Linked DNA regions of Homo sapiens: region 2 is linked to region 1. Evidence: promoter capture Hi-C in 16 types of primary human blood cells and fetal thymus (Javierre and others, 2016). All regions are on one chromosome and are shown on one strand. Each heading gives the region's core, a stretch centred on a gene start or on the middle of the fragment in contact. The rest is flanking DNA. Distances are from core to core; before and after follow the strand shown. Region 1 holds the start of POMP (proteasome maturation protein). Region 2 holds the start of NUP58 (nucleoporin 58).

What was found. The method cuts DNA at HindIII sites, captures the fragments that hold promoters and counts their contacts. A CHiCAGO score of 5 or more calls a contact.
Region 2: the fragment with the promoter of NUP58 here is called in contact with the fragment with the promoter of POMP in region 1 in 2 of 17 cell types (naive CD8 T cells and naive CD4 T cells); the score reaches 8.2 in naive CD8 T cells.

What each region holds. Positions count from the first base shown.
Region 1 is chr13:28,657,713-28,660,445 of GRCh38, reverse strand. POMP (proteasome maturation protein) reads right to left here and starts at 1,316. Exons shown (of 6, transcript NM_015932.6): 1 at 1,259-1,316. The coding sequence starts at 1,261. RefSeq lists a silencer at 1,384-1,443 and an enhancer at 1,664-1,823. The HindIII fragment of the contact is 5,788 bases long and covers 1-2,733 here.
Region 2 is chr13:25,300,277-25,303,009 of GRCh38, reverse strand. NUP58 (nucleoporin 58) reads right to left here and starts at 1,385. Exons shown (of 16, transcript NM_014089.4): 1 at 1,130-1,385. The coding sequence starts at 1,236. RefSeq lists enhancers at 1,090-1,139, 1,250-1,329, 1,490-1,729. The HindIII fragment of the contact is 2,784 bases long and covers 654-2,733 here.

The DNA.
Region 1 (2,733 bases), core at 67-2,566:
AACACTTACACTAGCCTACAGTCGGCCAAAATCATCTAATACAAAGCCTACTTTATTAAAAAGTACTGGGTATCTCATGTAATTTATTGAATACTGTACTGAAAGTGAAAAACAGAATGGCTGTATTGGTACTCAAATATGGCCTCTACTGACTGTGTATGGATTTCACACCATCATAAAGTCAGAAGATTGTTGAACCACCAGAAGTTGGGGACCTTCAGCAGAGATGTGTGATTGTTGCTTTCCAAATGTATCTTCTATTACTTCCCTATATGAACATTCTCCTCCTTCTGGACTGCTTTATTGTAAAGTAACAAGGTTTCAACGCACAAAGAAAAGGTGAATTCTGACTTCTGGATTCTGTTATTGTCATTTTTCCCAATTTCCTTCTGTAAAATATCAAGATTAGTACTTGCTGTTTCTAATAAAGGAAGGAGCCGAGAAAGGCAAATCTACGAAAACCTAACTACTAGTTACATTTGAGAGTGCCTAAAAAACTTTTTAGATAACGATTAGCAGTATTTACCAATAGAAACTTTCTAGATTTGGATGGATGGCCTACCAGCAGTACCGATATCAGAGTCTGTGGCAATGGTGACTCAGTGTTCTTCTCAAATACCACAACTTCTAAGTTAAAAAGAAAGAGAAAGTGGTGGGGAGGAGAAGGAGGGAGGAGATATACTAACAATACTGGCAAACAGGGAATAGCAACTGTCTGATTTTTTCCCCTCTAACATCTAGCACACTACAAGCTCTCAAAAAAGTTTGTAGAGCAAAGCTGCGTTACACAAATGCGACCTATAGTTGTGGGCTGTTTACTAGGCAGTTACAAGGGCGGGGGCTGGGGGAGATGAGGAGTCTGAGAGCTCTGGGCTCCCAGAGGTTACCCGTCAAGGAAAGGGTCGCCAGCGCCACCCCACAGAACGTTGCACTTTCACGGCTGCCTTTTCCACTTCTGCGCCAAGTAAGGGGAGGAGGTCTGGGCCTGCTGGGGTCTAAGGGATGGAAGGGCGCAAACCGAGCTAAGAGGAGCAGGATGAAGCCGAAGCACTGCTAGTGGGACTAGTGCCGGGCCCCGGCGACAGTCACGACCCACCCAAACCCCGTGACTCGACAGATTATGGCGCCTGAGGCCGGCCTCAGCCCCACGCTGCCGCCGCCGCCGCCACCGGGGACGGGTTGGGAGGCGACTGCCTGTTTCTGCCGAGCCACGGTCCCGAGCCCGCGTGGAACTCCAGCCGCCCGGGTACCCACTCACCATCTTCCGCAGCTCTGCGAACAGCCTCTCTGCCCCGTTACCGTCAGTCGACCCCGCCGCTCACTTCCGTTTCCGAGGGCTGGCCCCCACATCCGCCGGAAGTGCGTCCGTCCTGGCGAGGAAGGAAGGAGGGCGCGGGACGCCGGAGGGAGCTGCGCGGGGCCGAGGCTCCCACGCTTGCAATCCCAAGGGACCCAGGGCCAAGGGCGCAGTAAGGGTGTGGGCTGGGAGGAGGGAGGGGTCGGGACGAGACGTGCCTGAGGGGAGGGAAGACACGGACTCCGGTTTATTAATAAACATCTACGGTTTGTACGGCATTTTAAGATGTGCAGTGTGCTTTTGTAGGTACATCGCCTTATTTAACACAAAACCTCTCTGAGGTAGCTATTACATTTCACAGAAGGGTAAACGAGGCGTAGGTGGTTTGAGTGATTTGCTTGAGATCGTTCGGCTAATAAAGCAAAATTGGGACACAAGGCTTTTGTCATTTTTAAAAAACATAATATTGAAGGCCTGGTATGTTCCGAACCCTGTGCTGAGGCTAGGAATACAAAAAAGGACCAGGCCGGTGTGGCCTCTGGGCTAGAGGAGCAGGGGTACTCCGGAGGCTAGAGGGGAGAGAGGGGACGATAGTGACTACAAATTAAGTAAATGTGATCATGACCGACATATGTTGGGCCCTTTGAATTGCGTTATCAACACAGTTCTAAGTGCTTACATCCTTTATCTCTTTTAATCTTTTCAATAACCTTACAAGTACAATTTACAGGTGAAGAAACCGAGACATGAAGGGCTTAAATAAATATGCCTAAGGACATATTTATGAGTCTAGAATCCATGCTCATTACACTATTCTGTATTGTTCAAATATAATGTAATAAAACGGCCTTATAGTCTGCTGCCACAGGATGGAGACATCTTAGGGAATCTTTGGACTGACAGCTAAAAGATAAGAGCGAACTAGTTTGGGGTAGTAGGATATTTAAAACAACATTACGTGCAGATCTGCTTGTGCAAAAACGGAACTGGAAAGAAGGCCTAAGTCTGGCTAAAGTTCAGAAAGTAAAGTGGAGAGTACTGTGAGATGAGGTTGTAAGTAGATGGAGGCAAGTGGTTTTTGTTGTTGTTTTTGTTTGTTTGTTCTAAATAATGATAGGGTTTAGCTATGTTGCCCAGGTCTGCGTTGAACTCCTGGGCTCAAGCGATTCTCCTGCTGCAGCCGGCTGAGTAATGGGAACTACAGGCGTGCATCATGGGACCTAGCTACAGGTTTTTTATGCAGCCTTTGTAGGCAAGATTAAGGATGAGGCTTTGTCTTTAAAAAGCCATCGAAGGATTTGAGAGAGGAAAATGATAAGGCCATATATGTTATGTATATCCACTGCCATGGTCATACAACTTTGAAGTTCCAGATGTTATGTGTTCTGCCATGCTGTCCTTTAGGTGTCTTCTGGTCCTTCACAATAGCCATGTTT
Region 2 (2,733 bases), core at 136-2,635, 3.4 Mb after region 1:
CCTAAAACAGAGCCTTGCACATGGGAATCTGTCCAATAAATATTTGTTCCACGAATGACAATAGCCTAAGCAGGGTTGTGGAACTGGAAATAAAGACAAACAGAAATGGCAGAAGTAACATTATCAGAACCTGTTGTTGAGCGAGTAGAGTAAGAATAACGGAGGTATGGATGAAAATTCAAATTTCTGAATTGACTGTGTAGTCCGTGGTTCCTCCTCCCTCCCTTTTTAAACTGCAGGTCATGCTTAAGTATTTGCCTTTTAAATCTACAGCCACATCTTTTAAGCTTCAGGAAGTATCTTGTTGACAGTGTGCACACTCCTTAACTTTATGAACCCCTCCACCTTTATCTTAAAAAAAATTGAGTTCTAAAGCTTAAATCTCTCATTAAAATGTCTCACCACTTTGTTTCTTTCTGGATAGTTATGTTTTTGTCGCCACCTGAACTAATGGGTTGCACAAAAACAAGGAACATGCTACCTACGTTTTGTAATTTAAGTAAAAGACAAATTGAGTTATTACAACACAACATTCTCGCATCAGATATACTAATCTGCACATACTGCAGAAAATTACCACTAATAAACACTGTAAAAAAGTGTTTTTGTTTTTTTTAACAAAAACAGATAAGGTCCCATGTGGCACAAAAGCTTGAAAAGCTGGTTAAAAACCACAAAGTTATTAAAACACCGTCATATCCAAAACCGCAAATGCTGCAATGAAATCGGAATTATCTATCATAAAACTCCACAGTATGCTATAATTTCATTCATTCATTCAATGTTCATTCTATGCCTAAGACTGACACATCGCTAAAGCTCCGGGGTAGACCCCAAGGCCCTTCCACGCAGTCAAGACCCCACTAGGTCCAAATAATGCCTGAACTATACGTGGATTCTGGAAACCTCACAGCACAGAACCCATCCCGCCCTCCACTTCACCAGGCCGCGCTGGGCCCGGGTACCGCGGCGAGAGGCCTACGACGCCGGGCGGCTAGATTAAGTGCTTCTCTCCAGCCCCACTGGGAAGGAAGCCAGAGGGAAGAGACAGGATGGGGACACCAAGGGAGCTTTGCGGGGGTGGGGGTGGGGGTGAATCCGGCCCAGGAAGGCGAGAAAGTGCGGTTACCTAGACGCTCCCGTTCCGAAGGAGAAAACGCCGCCTGTGCTGGTCCCGCCGGCGGCCACGGTGGTGGAGCCCAGAGTCCCGGACCCGAAGGAGAACCCTGTGGACATGTCTGGCCAGGGCTCGACGCCGTCAGCAAGGCGAAATGGGTCTGGGACACTTCTCTCGCCTCAAAGCCGAGGCGGGCCGGGCAGCATCTCTCTCGCCCGGCACGGACCTGGCGGGAACTTCCAGCCCCAACGGCGGCGAAGGCAAGGCTGAGGGGGTGGAGCAACCACGCAAAAGTACGCCCGGCGCTCGCCGCGCGCACGTAGCCCGCCGGAAGTGTAACCGTCACGCAATGAGCCCTGGTACGTGAGTGGGGGACGGCGAGCCGCGCAAGGTACGCTGGGACCAGGCGAGAATAGGCGTACTGCCTAATCTCTTAAAGGAGTAGGCTCCCAGAGTTTAAAAACAGTAAAACCATTTCTGTCATTTTTTAGTTCTTCTATCGTAGCATCTGTACTGACATAATCCGCACTTTAGGGTGATGAATGTCAATTGCTACTTCTATCTAGCCTCCTGCCAAAATTGATGCTCAGAATCGCAGAATCGGGGAGGTCCCTCCTGAGCATCTCTAAGCTCCCCACTCAGAAAAGGAGGCGGCTTCGGGCTTTCGTTGGCTGCCGCCCCATCCCTAAGAAGGAAGGGGAGCGTGTCTGCTTCCTGAAGGTTCGGAAATCAATCGAAAATAATCCATGCAACCGTCCCACGACGTGAGCCCCACCCCTGCGCCCCAGGCCTCGCGGAGCCAGTTGGTCGCAGTTGTTGCGAGCCCGACGCCCAGCCCCGAAGGGGGCCCAGAAGAGCGTCCCAGGCGTCCGTGGGGTGGCCGGCTGTGGTCCTGGCGCCCAGAAGTGGCCAGGCCCGCTGGATTTCCTGGGATGCGGTCAAGTCCACAAATACTGTCCGTGCATCCTGATGCTGGAGGGCGGGACCTTGGGCCGAGCGAGTGTGGCTCCGCCAGAAGGGCCCTCGGACACAACCGGTGCTGGAGGAACTACAAAGTGGAAGGATTAGGAAACGCACAGGAACATGTACGAAAGAAGGCGAAATGTGAGGTGTAACTTACATTTCTAGGATAACTCAAGAAAAATTCGCGTTTAAAGAGAACCTCTCTGGCGAAGCATCAGGAAAGGCTTCCTGGTGGTGGTGCATTCGAGGGTTGTCATCATAGTGTTAGTTTTTATTTTTCCCTCAGGGATTGTTACATTACTCCCCCAAATGGTTTTCCTACTCGTGATCTCTAACAAAATCCATCCCATAAGCAACCCCCGGATTTATGATCTAAAAAGCCCAGTGGCTCTTTAGTTTGGCACTTGATGACCTCCGTATGATTAGTCTTTCTAACCTCATCTCACAGTTCTCCCTAATTCAGTACTTTAATCTTCCGTTGAGCTTGGGCATTGCCACCAGCTGTGGACTGAACTATTTCCCTCCTCCCCCAATCCATATGTTAAAGCCCTACCCCACCCCAATATGTTGGTATTTGGAGATGGAGCCTTTGGGAGGTAATTCAATTTAGATGAGGTCACCTTGGTGGGTCGCCCATGGCGAGATTAGTGCCC